2 separate regions of the Homo sapiens genome follow, and region 2 is linked to region 1. The links are contacts of gene promoters, found by promoter capture Hi-C in blood cells and fetal thymus (Javierre and others, 2016). All regions are on one chromosome and are shown on one strand. Each heading gives the region's core, a stretch centred on a gene start or on the middle of the fragment in contact. The rest is flanking DNA. Distances are from core to core; before and after follow the strand shown.

Region 1 (7,942 bases), core at 1,993-4,492:
ACTGCATGACTTGAAGAAGCCACTGAGCATTAACTACAACGTTTCTGAACACAGCTTCAAATTTTCACCCATAAAATGAGTAAAAACACCCATCTCACAGGTTGGGTGGGACAGTCTGGTGAGCTCAATCAGGGGAGTGCTTAGCATGGTGGCTGGTGGAGAATAAGGACTAAATAAATAGAAGTGAAAGAAAAACTAAGCAAGAGTTTCTATTAGGGACAATATCAGGCATGAGGATCAAGTTAAGAATTTCACATCTCAAAGGGGAGCTTTTTTGCTTAGTCAGGTGACCCAAGGACCTCCTGCCAATGCCCTATCCATATCACCCTATGGCTCTGTTACTCCTTTTCTTGTGAGGTCTGATGTCTACTCTCTGCATTTGCAGACTCGTGGGTTTGGGAGGTACCTCCATGATGATGGAGTTAAGCCCTCAAAGCTCTGTGCTTGCTGTGTCCCCCAGGTGTCTGTTTAGAGAAGCACTTCCTCCTGGGGGGAACCCGGAGGGCTTCCAAGGCTGCTGAGCCATTCTCCTCTGTTCATTTTCCATTACTGCAAAATTCACACACTCTCCCTGCTTATAAAAAGTAGTGGCATTTTTGCCAGTCCTCATATTCTGCAGTATCCAACTCTATTGATTCTTTTTTCTTTTCTTTCTTTCTTTTTCTTAAAAGAAGGATAGTCTGTTTCCTTCTTTCAGGAATACTCAGTGTTACTAATAGGACAAGAGTTCCTTAGCATTCCAGAGAGAGAAAAGGGCAGAGTCAGTTGCCTGTTTCTTTTCTTAGTTCCTTGAAAAATAGATGAGCCATCTTTCTTTTCTGTCACTTAGTGGGAAAGGACTCTCATAAATACATTTTTTTTTCCTAGAGATAGTGAGAAGTGACAGGCAACTCACATCTTTATTTGCCTGAAAACATGCAAATGCAAACATGTGACCCACTAGCTGATAGAGGCTACAGGATTTTCCTCTTTTCCTGAGCCTGGTATGAAGCCAAAACACCATTCCAGCCTGTCAAAATCAAAAGGCAAAATTCTTTGGCTGTAAGAGGCAGAGGGAGTCCAGCCACACTCGCTAGCTTAGCATAGATATGCAATACACAAAGGAAGACAGCAGAGAGATGAATCATACAAATACGTAGTAAATAAATATATTTTATTTTCATCTCAGTAGCTTTTGCTTTTTTTTTTCTCTTCCATGCTAGGAGGTGGGGGTGGGGTGGGGTGTGTGAGGAAATAGTAGGTTTTGGCTGGATACAGCTTCAATAAGGTCTTGATAGTTCTGGCCTTGTTGCTCAGCTCTAGCTTTTTAAGAAAAAAAGTGTAGATTCTTAGATTAGAAGGCTTTCTTTTATTATTATTATTATTATTTTTTGAGACAGAGTCTCACTCTGTCGCCCAGGCTGGAGTGCAGTGGTGTGATCTCGGCTCACTGCAACCTCTGCCTCCCAGGTTCAAGCAATTCTCCTGCCTCAGCCTCTTGAGTAGCTGGGATTACAGGCCCACACCACCACACCTGGCTAATTTTTGTGTTTTTAGTAGAGACGGGGTTTCATCATGTTGGTCAGGCTGGTCTCGAACTCCTGACCTCGTGATCCACCTGCCTCTGCCTCCCAAAGTGCTGGGATTACAGGCATGGAACACGGTGCCTGGCCGATTAGAAGGCTTTCTAATTCAACCCCTCTCATCATACAGATGAGCAGTCTGAGATGCAGAGAGGGGACTGATAACAAAGTCATAGACCCAGGGAAGTGACTGTTCATAGGGGTTCTCTGGTTCAACAGCCCTATGCGATGCTGGAATAACCTAGACAGGCCAAGCTGACAAGAGGGCAGGAGAGTGAGTCTGGAACCAAGATATGCCCTCCCAGGTCACAGCGCTACATTGAAGAGAAACAGACTGTGCCTTCTTGAATTTCGGACTGCATTCTCAGTAGCTGAGGCCCTACCTGGCAGCAAAATATCTGGTCCTGGCTCTGCAAGCAGTTGTTGCCTCTGGCATGTTAGAGCCCTTGGCCAAAGGGCTGTTCCTGTCTTCTTGTTCTCAAGGATAGCTAACCAGCCTGCAGGTACATAGAGAAACCAGCCCTGGGCCCACCGGGCTGCAGGCACTCGGGAGCTGGATCTTTCACAATCTCCAGACCCAAAGGTGGCTTGGCGATTATTTGTTTATCAAACTGCGGCTTCCCAGCCCACTGCCTGCCCACACCCACCTACCCTCCCGCCTGCCCACAGGCCAGCCTCCCTGCTCTTCCCACCTCTGGGACAGGCAGGGCCCTCCATGGTTTTCCAGATGTGTGCAGGGAGTTCTCCTCAGAGCCCCCACAGTCAGACAATGGCCACACACTGCTTCCTAGGCCTTCCCAGGCAGTGCTAGAAGGAGACGAGCAGCCTTCCCAGGAGAGGCGGCCGGCGCCGCTGATAAAATATTGGCAAAATTATCACGAAAAGCCAGAGTCATGAAGCTATCCCTCTGCCAAGGAGCACGGAAAGCACCAAAAAAGAGCCTGGGGGTCATGTGTCCAGAGATGCCAGGCTTCCTTCCTCTTTCCAGGCAGCCCGAGCGCAGGCTCCCTCACCTCCCGCCCCCACCCCTGTTCCCATGGCAAAGGAGAGGAGGATCCACTTACTGCTAGTGTTCATGGTGATGTCTTTGCACTGGGTCTTTCATTCAATACGGAGGCCCCGGCTGCTTTTTAAATCTTCCGTTCTTCGAACCTCACTCATCACCTGGGGGGTGAAAAGGCAGTCCAGTGCCAGCTCTGTATCCTCAGGTGCTCTCTCTCCCTCTGCTGTCCCCTCTCTGTCTGGGCTGTAGCCCCTGGCCTTGAAGGCGCGTGGACTAATAGGCGCAGGTGAGAGCAAGGAGAAGGAGGCGGCAGGACACCGGCGCCCCGGTCCTCCTGCTCCTCAGATTGGAATCCCGGGCAGAAGTGGGGTTGGCAGCGCCTGCTCGCGCGCACCCCGGACTATTCCTGCCCAGCGGCTCCGGAGCCCAAAGGGGGTGTGGACCACAGGGAGGCAGGGCGGGGGCAGCGCGTCCCCGCCCGGCTTCAAGGAGCAGCGACCCGCCCCGGAACCCACCTCTCGGCCAGTGTCGGGAGCCAGAGGCCCCTGCCCCGGCCCCTGCGACTGATTTCATGAATCCTGGTCCTCGTCTGGGGTCTCGAATTCCAGGGCTAGCAATGCGAAATAGGGGAGCTCGACATCCATGATGCGGGCTCGCGGGTTGGCAGCGCAGGGGGCGCGGCCGCTCGCTGCTGCCACCTGCTGGACGCACCGGCGCGTGTCCGAGGCCCCGCCCCGCCGGGCTTCTGCCTGGGCCCTAGGGTGTGATGGGAGATGGACGAGGCCTTGTGAGATGGACGAGGCCTTGTGTCCTGGGACCAACGAGGGAGTGCTTGAGCGCTTGTTTTCCCTCCCTCGATCCTGGGGTTCTAAGGGCTCGACAATGATAGGAAAAGAAACATCATTAGGAGGGGCCGTGAAGGAAAACCTGGCTTTGCAGGAAGACAGTTTCCACCCGGCTCTGCTCTGGCAAGCTTGGCGCAGTCTAGGCTCAAGCCGGTCACTACCGTCTCTGCCTCATCTTTCTCAACTATGAATATGGCGTCTGGACAAGTGGATAACACGTAAGGGGCTCTTCCAGCCTCCCAGCGTTTATGTCCCCTCTTCCCTCACAGATTCCCTTTATCCTCTATCGCTGATTCATCATTAGAATTGTTTATTACCTCTTTTCCCCACGAGAATGTTAGCTCCGTGAAAGAATGGGTCTGTCCGTAGGGTTCACCTACAGGCCCCCAATACCTAGCACAGGGCCCGGCATATAGTGGCTACCAATAAATATTTGTTGACAGAGCAACCCAGACATTTTCTGGGTTTAATATTACACAGCCCTAAGAGTAGACTGCCTAGGCGCCCCACCCTGAAACACTTCCCCGTCTGAGGAGAACAGCAGGTATGTGGCCTCACAGGTCCACCCTAGTTTTCATATGGTCAACTAACTCTTCCCCCAAGTTGTTGTTGTTTTTTTTTTTTTTTTTGTAATTATGTCTTATACGTGTGTATTGTAGAAGTTTATATTCCAAAGTGTTTTAGTCACAATTGATTCAGTGGGGTAGGGCTCTTTACATTCCTGTGACTACTTACTCTGTCACTTTCTGAACCTAATTCATGATCATAGAAGCATGACTTTTGAGTGCTGAAAAACAAGACTGTGAGGGCACATGATCCTTGTCTATAGCATGACTTCAATTAGAGCATGTGCAGACTCAAAAGGCTGTGAACACTCACAGCCCCAGCTTAGACAAGGAAACAGGGTGTCAGAGAGGCTGGGCAACGTGCCCTAAGACACACAGCATCTTGTGGCAGAATCGGACCAGATCTTCTCACTTCTAGCTTGATCCTGTGTGAGAGTGGCTCAGTGCACTAAAGTCTGGGATATCAGTGTGAGATTAGATAGCTGCCCTATTAAAATTGGGGAAAGACAAATACGATGTTTTTATACAATGCTTTTAGATAAATACAACGTTTCTACCTTACACAGGGAGGAAAAAAAGGATATGGCTCATGACCCCGAGAGGTGATCAGGATTAAAGAATCTTTGGATAAACCTAAGGATCAATAGATTTGAAACACATTTGATAGATTGTTAAGAATTTTGTCCACATGTTCTCACTCATAAGTGGGAGTTGAACAATAAGAGCACATGGACACAGGGAGGGGAACATCACACACTGGGGCTTGTTGTGGGATAGGGGACTGGGGGAGGGATAGCATTAGGAGAAATACCTAATGTAAATGATGAGTTGATGGGTGCAGCAAACCAACATGGCACATGTATACCTAGGTAACAAACCTGCACGTTGTGCACATGTACCCTAGAACTTAAAGTATAATAATAATTTTTTAAAAAAGAATTTTGTCCAATGGGGTGGAGGTAAAAATAGCCCTAATGTCCTCACGGTCGTTCTTAAAATTTTGTGTCGATAACAAACGCCTGAGATACCTCCAAAAATGCAGATTCCCAGGCCCTGGACTCCCTTGCTCAGCATTTGAAACAAGCATCCCAGGTGATTCATAGACAGCTCTTTGAAAAGGGTAGAGGCCTAAAATAGCTTTGAAAACGTAAGTGATTAGTAAATATTTAAATTATTCCACTTTATGTGTCCTCTACATTTTCAGATGGGATTCCTTGTTCAGTTTCCAAGTTGCAGGTAACTTGCTAGATTCTAATGCTTGGAAAAACATTTTTCTGGGAGAAAGTTCAGATAAATTAGACATGTAAAATTAACTGTTCTATTCCATGAGCATATTTAGTTATCACCCAAGGCCTCAATGTTCAGAAAATTTCAAATTATAAGAAATAGTCAAATGAAAGCATGATATTCATTCATTAGTTCATTCACTCAGCAATTATTTATCGAGGGTATGCTTTGTGGTAGCCCCAGTGCTGGCTTCTGGGGATACCGTGGAGAACAGGACAGACAAGAGCTCTACCCAATAATGGATGATTGCAGAAAAAATAAAAAATAAAGAAATAAAAAGAACTCCAACCTCATAAGCATAAATCCAATCCTGGGACAGCGGGGAGACAATTAACTAAGCAAAATATAAATTAGCTAAACCCGATGGTGGCCTGGGGAAGAGCCCAGGTGCCGTTTCCAGCCTTCCTGACTTTTAATCTCAGCTTCATCACTTTCTAGCTGTCTCACTTTGGGGAAGATACTTAGCCTCTATAAGCCTCAAAGTTTTCATCTGTACAAGGGTACAACCACAGTGCCTACCTTTTGGATTGTCGTATATATTAAAGGACTTAGTGTAATGCATGACAAATAAAGGCTGGTTGCATACTAATTATTAATATCACCCCTCACTTATACCTGCCCTCAGTGACAATGCTGTCATTTTCTACTTATGGAAATCTGTTGGGCTTTTCCACAGAGTGGTGGCCACGAAAATATGCCTGAAAATTTTCAGGTGATTAATTAATTGATAAATTAATTGATGAATTAATGAATTAATTATTCATCAATTAATGAGATTAATTGATGAATTCTTCTTGTCTGGGGTTCTTTTCGATAATGTATCCAGCTAGATGCTGATGACTTCACCTCTTAGAAGAGATCACTGGGTCTTGGGCCACTTTTTAAGGCCCAAATAACATCTGCCGGGGGAACAATCTTATTTTCTCTGCATAGTTTATAAGGATAGGAAAAAAGGGGCTAAAATAAGCTATACAAGCTATGCCCTTGAGGATGTCCACAACAATCAGAGGCAGCGGGAAAGACGCAGGAGGAAGCTGGGGGTGGGATTCTCTGTGGACATGGCTGTGAAAGTCATCAGGGGATCGGTGTTGTTGACTCTGTCCTTGCAGGAGAATGGAGCTGAGAACCACAGAGCAGAGGATCCCTTTGTCTGGAAGTTTGTTTTGAACATTAAGACTCCAGAATGGAGATAAACAAATCTCACCGGGAAACTGGCAAAGGCTCTGGGTGTTGAAAAACCATGTGGCAAAATCATTGGGAGACAAACCTTCCAACTTCTCTGAGGGGAAAAAGGAAAGGTTTTGGGGCCAGCTTCACCCATGGCCATGGCCTTGCACCTCAGGGGCTGTTGCTGGGCTGCCGTTACTGGGCTCTTCTTCACCACAAAGAGCTCCCATCTTTCCTGACTCCCTGTCCCTAACTGGGGTCATCTCAAGCTCTCCTCCTCACTTTCTGCTCCCTGCCTCCCATTGCTGTTATTGACCAAGGCAACTCTTGGCCCCTGACTTTTCTCTCTGGTTGCCTTTCTCTCATTCCCGTCCCATTGCATCTCTGCCTCCTCCTCATCCTGCTCCTGTTCATTTACAAATAAATGCTCACTCACCCTCATCTTGAATACAAAGTCCTTTTAGTCTATAAGGTGTGGGAATGGTGGGGAGGGTGCTTGTAGTCTCATAGTTTCTACTTGCCATCCCTAGACTATCTGAATATCTTACCAAAGGTGACTATTTCTTTTCTTAGTTTTGAAAAATAATATGTTATGGTTAACAACATGAGAAAGATCTATGTATAATTGTGGGGGAGGGTTTTCATAGTATGTGATTAAATAAAAAGAAAATTACAGAAAATAGATACAGTATGTTCTTTAGGGTATTGTATATGTGATGGCAAATGCTGTTGAAGGATTAGACTGGATAATTTCTTCAGTTCCTTTCGCTCTAGTGTTCTTGGTTCTAAGCATAGAGCGGTTGAACCAAGTTTGAAGTTTGGCAGATCTGACCACATTCTCGGTTGGGGTAGGGACTTTTGTTCCCCAAGGGACACCACTGGTTTGTGCTGAGCCCCAGGCCCTGAACACAGAACAGACTTCCCACAGGGAGTGGTGCTTTGTATGAAGCTCTCTGAGCTTCTGTCCCCCTTTCCTCTCTTGGGGATCTCTGAAACCTAGGTAGAATTGATAGGATTTAGACCTGTTTTTCTGGTTGAAATAGCTTTGTGACTGGGCCATGCTTTTCCTCTTGTTCCTCACATTGTTTTGTGGGGAAATGTTAAGGAAAACAAAACCAAAATCAAAGTGGCTCCCAACATCTTTGGGAAGTTTCTTGGGGAAACAAAGGAACTGGCTTTGAGATCAGAGTGCCGGAGGCTACAGCATGGGCTCCAGGGGGGCTCCATGCAGATGGCCCCACCATAGGATTCTTCTGAGGCCTCACACTCACATGTGGCCACAGCCCAAACCTCCTTCCTGATGGTCATTCTTCCAGCAGAAGGAAGGAGCTGAGGTGGAGGCAGCTCTGGATAGGAATTTGGGAGATCTGAAAACTGGACTCAGTGCTGCCATTCCCTTGGCTAACCTTCTCTGGGCTGTTTTTTATTTTATTGGTAGAACCATCTAAAAAAGATGTCAGGGAACATTCTATCCTACGTTCCATTTTACAGATTAGGCATAGAGGGGCTTCA
Region 2 (7,942 bases), core at 2,666-5,165, 100 kb before region 1:
CATACACTATCATGCCCAGATAATTTTTAAAAATTTTTTTGTAGAGAAGAAGTGCTATGTTGTCCAGGCTGGTCTCAATTTCCTGGGCTCAAGTGATCTTCCCAACTTGGCCTCCCAAAGTGCTGGGATTACGGGCGTGAGCCACTGTGCCCAGCACCAAAGAGTCATCTCTGAGCTTCTGTGAAGCTTTGCTCAGAATGGACATTGAATTAGTAAAGACATTGAATCAGAGTGGATCTTGATGGGGGGAAAAATTTCCCCCCATACTTGAAAGGAACAGCTTGGGTTGTATGATTGGGTGAGGTGGTATCTGAGGACCACTGAGACCCCTTACCAGGAGCCTTCCACCTCCCCACATCCTCTCTTTCTCCATCCTCCCAACCATTTTTTACCCTACAGCCAAAGTGGTCTCTCAAAAGCACAAATGTGATCATGCCACTACTTTCAATGTGATCATGCCACTCACTGTTTAGGATAACAACCAAAATCCTTACCTCAACCCTCAAAACCCTGGGGGACCTCCTCCCTCACCTCTACTGCTTCTCTTCCTCTCTGAGTTCAAGGTTAAGTGGACAGCCTTTTCTTTCCTCCAGTGGAATCCTCTCTCACATCCTGGGTCTTTGCAGAAGTATTTCTACACTCTCTGCTGTGTTACATCCTTGCCACCCTCCTGATGGCAGCTGAGTGGCTGCATTGAGAAACTTTTGTCATCTTCAGGCTGGACAGCAGGCCCCTGCCATCAGCTCTCCTACCTTCTGCGCATCACCTCCCTCTCATGGCTGGGGCCTATGTCTTCTCCACAAGGGCAGGGACCTGGTCTGTTTTGCTCCCCAGTGTATTGCTAGGGTCCATGGCCAGTGTTTAGTACATATTTGTTGAATGAATAAACACCCTTAGTTATAAACCCTCTAAGCACTCTTATTCAGAATGATTGTATAAAGGAGTGGGCAACTGTTCTGAACACCCGTGTCCTTGGCACAGGTGTTAGGGCCCTGGACCCAGGCTCCTATGGGGGTACTACCTTTGGGGGACCCATGGTAGGTCCAGTACTCAGACTCCGAAGCATAGTAGGGGTCTGGCGAGTAGATGGGACTGTACTTGGAGGTCTGGCTGATGTCTTCACTTGTTTTGCTCTTGGTTGCTGTAGACAAATCACCTGCAGAGGACCCAAGGAGAGCACTTCAGGAAGGCAGAGTGACCGGGATGGGACTGTGTACCCTTTTCCTATCTTTACCAGGCTCCAGCCCAGGGGAGTGAGTCCACTTCAAGATCAGGGCTCTCTGTTAGAACTGGGCCATGGAGCATCGGAGCTGGAAAAGCACTGGGGCCAAACCCTCATTTTGCATTTAGTAATTGGAGCACCAGAGAGGGGAAGGGGCTTGCTTAAGACCACATAGCATGTGAGCACCAGAACTGGACCAGATCCCAGCCCAGGGCTCTTTCCAGCACATTCCATGGATTCCCAGGTCTGTTCCAGAATGACCTCTAAGGGTGTGGCTCCTCAAATAAGACTGGACAGGTCCCAGGTGAGCCCCAGCCCTTTAGAAGCCTTCCTAGCCCTTTAGAAGCCTTCCTTGTTATAAATTTGAACTCCATCATTTCTCACAACCTGAGATGCCACATTCTGCTCAGGGACTACATAGCCTGAAGGAAGGAGTGCTAGACAGGGAGTCAGCAAACCTGGGTTCTGGTCCCAGCTCTGCCACTTTACTCAGCTGTAACACTGGGCAGGTCCTACCATCTCTGCCTTAGTTTCCTCATCTGTAAGTGTCAGAATCGGTCTGCTGGCTCAGCTGCCATCCAGCTTCAAGCTTCCACCTGAAGTAAGCCCAGGACAGGGGTGACCAAAAAGACCCACTGCAGTCACAACTACTTACAGAGCAGTGACTTCTCGTGGCCCAAACGTGGGTGACAGGCTGGTAGAGCAGAGAGAGGGGCTGGGGAAGTGTGTGTGGCTGCATGACCATTTCTCATGGTCAGCTACAGGAAGCTTTAGGGACAAGCTCTGTGCTCTGTGGAGCCAGAGTGGCAGAGCGTGGTGGATCAGCTTCAGCCAGCCCTGGGCTATGCAGCCCCCACAACAGCACTTGCTTCCAAAGCTTTCAAATTCTTCTCTTTGACTTGGGTCCTGGGCAGCCCCTCCTGGCTGACTGCATTTAGCTTTTTCCTCCGCCCTCTTTTCCAAGCAACCCACCTCCACCCCAGACTCCTCTTGAGTCTGCTTTAGTGCCACCCCTCAGGGCCCACCTGGAAAATCCCACAAAGTCCTGAGAAGCTTGTGACCTGGGGGCCTTTTCTAGGTATAAAGCCAAACTACCTTTGTCATGTTGGTGTCTTTCTATGAGTACTCAGGGGACATGGCATGTCCTTCACAAGCTGGTACAGACTTGCACATGCTCACAGACTCACCTCGGACCCCCCTGCTCAGCCCCCTCTGGAACCAAGGATGTCTGTATAAAATGTAGAATCTTAGGCACCCAGAGCCGCTGTTTAAACTCGTATTGTCCCCTCCACCAGCTAATTAGTTCAGAACCTGGTGCAGGACTGCTTCGCTCATCTCCAAGCTCCACCGATTCTGGGCCTCCTTTTGTTATCCAGCTAGACCCTTAAGCAAGTGTGGGTGCACAGGGTGGCAGCTGCTCCTCTGCAGCTTCAATGGAAGGGATGTGCTCCTTCAATCGAGGCTTAGTAAGTACTTTTTGCAAAAGTGAACAGGTGGTGTCAGTGATGAATGACTTGGTGGTTCTCATACTAAGTGCAGGGAGGAATCATGGACAAAGCCAGTTATAGTGCAGATTCTTAGTTCACACTCTCAATATTTATAATTAAGGGAGTCTGGGGCAAGGAAGGGGCCAGGGAATCTGCCTTTTAAATGTCTCTCAGGTGCAGATGGTCCATAGATCATTCTTTAAGAAACACTAAATCAATGAATGAATGAAAGAAGGAAGTCACCCTCTGCAACCTTACTCATCTACATCTCCTCTGCAAGTCTCCATCCACTCTCAGGAGACTGTGACTGAGAACAACTTACAGCAGGGGTTCCCAAGTTGGGCTGAGTATCAGAATCACTTGGAGAAACCGTGACACATACAGAATTCGAATTCAGTAAGCCTGGGGTGGGGCCCAGGAATCTGTATGCATCCCCTGTTATTCTAATGAACATTTCAAGTATTAATGCCTTGGAGTGTGACTCTCCCAGGGGCATGTGCGTTTTACAAAGGTTTTACCAATTATGGAACTTAGGATGACAGAGAGCAGGTAAGGGGGAGATTGCAAAGGTGGTGGGAAAGAACTGAGGGGACATGAGGACTTTGTTCTTTTGAAATGATACCAAACTCTGCCCTAATGTCACCCTGGGTGATGGGGCAGTCAACAAGAAGGACCAAGATGCAGCCTTGTGTTTTGTGGCTCCTGGTGGCCTGTGCAGGGCCATCTGCATAGATGGTTAACCTCCCCCCTCTCCTTGTGTGGCCAAGCCCTATCTACCTCTGACCATACCATGCCGTTTGTAGATCGGGGGTTTCCGGTAGATGTTACTGTCTCCAGCTGCCAGACAGACCAGGAAGGGACAGTGGGGAGGGGAGAGAGAGAGACAGGAGAAAAGGGAGAAAAGGAGATAGTACTTGGTCAGTTGATCTCAGAAGAGAGAGATGGGCAACAACTTTTTCCAAGGGGCCACCATCTTTTTCCCCTGGTGACTTCCTCTTCCAAAGTTGAACTTTCAACCTCGTCCCAACAGGTTCCAAGTAAGGTGCGGGAAGAGGAATGGATGGATCCAAGTGGTGCCGAGGAAGAGACCTGGGGCTTGAAGGGTGAGCATGCAGGCACAGGGGTGTGTGTGCTCAGCAGAGCCCCATGCAGGAAGGTGTCCACTGCCTCCACCAGTGGCCACACCTCATTCCATGTGAAAATTCCCAGGATGCTGCAGCCGAATTTCAGCTTACCTCCCTCCCCCTCCCTCAAAGACAGACAGGATGGGACCCCTCTAGGGCAGCTGAGGAAGGTGTAGATGAAACAGCAGCATGAGCTCTTGAGGGGAACGTGAGTGGGGAGTGAAAAACTGAGCTTGGTGTCAGGAGACTGAGGTTCAGCCCTGGCTCTGCTGTGACTCAGAGGGAGACCTTGTCCAAACTACACCCACTCAGTCCTGTAGCCCCTGTCTTCCTCTCAATTCCTGTCATGACCTGCGGTCACATGACATGATAGTGCTCTTCCCTCTGCCTGGGATGTCTTTCCTTGGCTTCTTCATAGGCTGGCTCTTCATCTTTTTTTCTTTTTGAGACAGAGTCTCACTTTGTCACCCAGGCTGGAATGCAGTGGCACGATCTTGGCTCACTGCAACCTCCGCCTCCCAGGTTCAAGTAATTCTCCTGCCTCAGCCTCCTGAGTAGCTGGAATTACAGGTACAAGCCACCATGCCCAGCTAATTTTTATATTTTTAGTAGAGACAGCGTTTCACCATGTTGGACAGGTTGGTCTCGAACTCCTGATCTCATGACCCACACGCCTCGGCCTCCCAAAGTGCTGGGATTACAGGCGTGAGCGACCACGCCAGGCCCCTTCTCATCTTTCAGCTTTAATGTTACCTCCTCCAAGAAGCTCTTCCTGACCGCCCCATCTAGCCTGGCCTCTCTCAGCCTCATCATCTCTCAGGATGGCCTGTTTTATTTATGTTTATGGCACCTATGGCTACCTGAAATTATCCTCTACCTATTTGTTTACTCATTTTTATCTCTCTTCCTACATTAGTACGTAAATACCAAATACCATGAAGGCAGGATCTGGGCTGGGTTGAGCACAGTTGCAACCTCTGAGCCCAGAACAGTGCTTAGCTGTACAGAAGGAATAACAGTGGCTTGGGAAGCCAAGTAACTGGCTCACAGTCATGAGCTTATAAGCAGCTGCATCGGATTCCATCCCAAGAGCTTTGAAGCCAAAGTGTGTAGCCTTCACCGCTGTGTGCCCCTGCTGCGCCCCTCACAGCCCTCAAGCACTCACGGTATCTCACTCGAGCTCCCTGCCTCTTTTCTTCCCGGGACTGCTTCTTTGAGGTCCTAATGGAGGCTGGTTCTGTCAAGTGGATAATCTGAAGCCCGTGGGTGTGTTGGGGTTGGAGGACAGGGTTGGTGCAGGTGCTTGGTTAGGGAGGTCCCTCAGGAACCAGCTTCTTGGTGCCTGTGTGGCATCGAGGGGGTGACTCAGGCACCTGTGACCCCATGGAGCATGCATCCATCCCAGGAATTCTGGGCTGGCAGTGCCTACCTGGGATGTGAAAGTGCTTGGGAGCCTGGTAAGAGGTTGGAGTGGAGGACCTCACATCTAACTGGCTATGGTATGGAGAGCTCCGGCCACTCTCGGGCCCTGGAGCACGCAGGAAGTGGTCGCCAAAGAAAACAGAGGCACAGAGAAAACAGGCATTAACGCGGTGGCAGTTTAGGAAGTGGTGAGGTGATGACAGCAGAGATGGGGGATGGGCTGGGGCGTCTCAGCGTGCTCAGGTTCCGGGGCGGAAGCAGCATGTGCTCTCATGCACCACGTTGGCAGAAACAAGCTTGACTTTGCTTCCTGGCTTGATCCCAAAGTCAGATTTTGTGAGATGTAAAGATCAACTCTACTGAGCTCCAGGAAGGCATGTTAGTTTGAACCTCTTATCTCCCCAACCATCCTTGAACCTCCCCCTTTTGGACGCTCCCTTAATTGCTCCTTTCCTCCATCCAAGTGCTGGCATCACCCCCAACCTGAGGGTGACTGTGGATGGTCTGACTGGATTGGCTGGGGTGGCCCTTGGGTGAAGGCCAGTTCATAGCCATATTTCTGGTCTCTTGGTTCTGCCCTCCGGATGGGGCAGGCCACGAGGATGGTGGAGTCTTCTTCCACCAGGGCCACAGGGCCACCTGCCAGCCCCCTCTCCTGGAAGTTCACCACCCACCTTCCTGCTGCTTCTCAGTGCCACACACTCCTCCATCCCCCCTGCCATCTCAGGGACTCAGAGAGGCCCAGCTGGTCACCTGGGTGGCCATAGGCCTCCAGAGGGCCACACTGTGATGGAGATCATGGGGGAGCCTTGTGCCCTCTGCAGCAGGGACCCCAAGTGACTGCATTGTCTCCCTGGCTCTTCCTCTCCCTTCAGGTCCTCCCCCTTCCTTACCAGAGCGGTAGTAGTGGTGAGGTGAGCGGGAGAAGGTGGGGGACATGCCCTGCCGGCTGTAGGTGGGGGAGTCTATGTACCCCGGGCTGGAGGCCCGTCTCTGCCGGAGGTCCAGGTTCTCGTAGATGTCCTGGGAGAGGAAATGGGGCTGTGAGCATGGCTGGCTGTTAAGTGGGCCTGTGGCCCGAGGGTCTAGCAGGCAGGTGGGCATGACATGGAATCTGGGATTCTCGGGTTTGAGGTGTGAATACAGAGACCCCCCTCCTCCCTGAGTTACACACACAGCCCGAGGAAGATGGCAGAGAATTTCCAGGGCTTTCCCCCATTACTTGCAGGCCCTTGAATGGAATCTATGGGGTCAATCCCTGGAATCCTGACCAGGGATCCCAGAAGCCTGAGGGAGGCCATCTCTGGGCAGGAAGGGCAGATTTCCATCCTGTATGCCACTACCACTTCCTCCAGGACATGCACCCGAGTCTCTCCAGCACTTCCCTGCTTGCAGGGAATACCTTGGGCAAGGGCTCAGACACCTTCGGGGGGCTGGGGATGGGTGAAGTCCACATAAAGGGGCACAATTATATATCAACTTAATTCTCTATCAGCTGAATTACCTGGGAGTAGGGAGATAATGTTCCCAGCGACTTAGAAGTGAAGAGTTTGAAGGCAGTTGTGGAACGAGCAGAAGGAATGAGAGGAGGACGAGACGAAGGACAGAGCATGGTTAGATGGCTCGGCAGAGAGGGTTTGCAGCAGTTCCTTTGTACCCCTCTCCAGATAACAGCCTCGCTGGGAATTCCAGAGGGTCAGACTACTGACAGGAGGCAGGAAACCTCGAGATTATGCCCGCCTTTTAGGAAGGGAAAAACCAAGGCCCAGAGAGAGAATACGAAGGCTCACGGCCACTCAGGGCAGAAGTGGCAGGGACTTGACTTGGACCCAGGCTTCTGTGCTGCATGCTCAGGGCTATTGTCACCACCCTTTCCTTGTCTCTCTACTGGTTCATGACCCCTCTACAGTTCATGAGGACGATGCCCAGGGCAGGGCACCCAGCAGCCAGCACCCTGGCTAAGCAGGGGCCAGGCTGGGGCCACCAACAAGGGAGTTGAGCTGGTGGCTGGTGCAGCAGCTGGAGATGGGATGTCTCGACTGAAGAGGGCAGCAGTTCCTCAGCTCCAGCAGCTGGAATGCCTGCCCAGCATTTACACAGCATCTTAATTTTCCAAGAAAGACAGAAGTGCAGATTCTTACATGAAATCTCCCAGTGTTTACTTGTTGACAACTAGTTTGCATTTTCAAAAGACACTTTGTGAGTGAAACAAAACAAATCTGAGGGCTGGCTGCAACCTGTGGGCCCTGGTTTGCCATCTCTAACTGAAGGACAAGCGGCTTCTACTAAACACTTGATCCTCCTCTCCTGGTGCATTTCAGGGGCCGGAAACCAGAGAATCTCAGCACTGGGCTCTTCAACCAAATGGAACCCAAATCCCTTAGGGAGGAAGGGAACTTGCCTGAGGTTATGAGGCTAGTTATGGTGGAGCTGGGACAAGAACCTGGGTCCCTGCCCACCAGGACAGGCTTCTGCTGCCTCAAATTAACTCAAGGGGTCTGGGATAAGGTTAGAAATCTTCTAGGATATAGACTGCCAGGACCTCCAGGGTAATTCTGCCCCCAACCCTGCTGCCATCTCCAGAAAACACTTTCTCTTGTTTAGCAACCATTTAATGATTTCAAAAGCTATCTGTTACTGAGTCTTTATAAAAGCGTCTCTTCCTTTGAAGAGACACTGGGGCTAAA

Evidence for each region. Contacts are between HindIII fragments. The CHiCAGO score rates a contact against its expected background, and 5 or more counts as called.
Region 2: a contact is called between a fragment that was not itself captured here and the fragment with the promoter of ABLIM3 in region 1, in 2 of 17 cell types (naive CD4 T cells and naive CD8 T cells). The highest score is 7.2, in naive CD4 T cells.

What each region holds. Positions count from the first base shown.
Region 1 is chr5:149,136,793-149,144,734 of GRCh38, reverse strand. ABLIM3 (actin binding LIM protein family member 3) reads right to left here and starts at 3,242. Exons shown (of 24, transcript NM_014945.5): 1 at 3,081-3,242; 2 at 2,627-2,726. The coding sequence starts at 2,639. It overlaps LOC124901102 (a long non-coding RNA gene), which reads right to left and starts at 2,619. Exons shown (of 2, transcript XR_007058988.1): 1 at 1,946-2,619; 2 at 1,137-1,302. RefSeq lists enhancers at 1,820-2,319, 2,320-2,821 and a silencer at 3,127-3,376. The HindIII fragment of the contact is 6,101 bases long and covers 1-3,540 here.
Region 2 is chr5:149,238,095-149,246,036 of GRCh38, reverse strand. It overlaps ABLIM3 (actin binding LIM protein family member 3), which reads right to left. Exons shown (of 24, transcript NM_014945.5): 12 at 6,760-6,789; 13 at 6,149-6,278; 14 at 5,263-5,361; 15 at 3,499-3,546; 16 at 1,022-1,156. Among named protein-coding and RNA genes, the nearest start is that of AFAP1L1, 30 kb to the left of the region's middle. The HindIII fragment of the contact is 3,276 bases long and covers 2,278-5,553 here.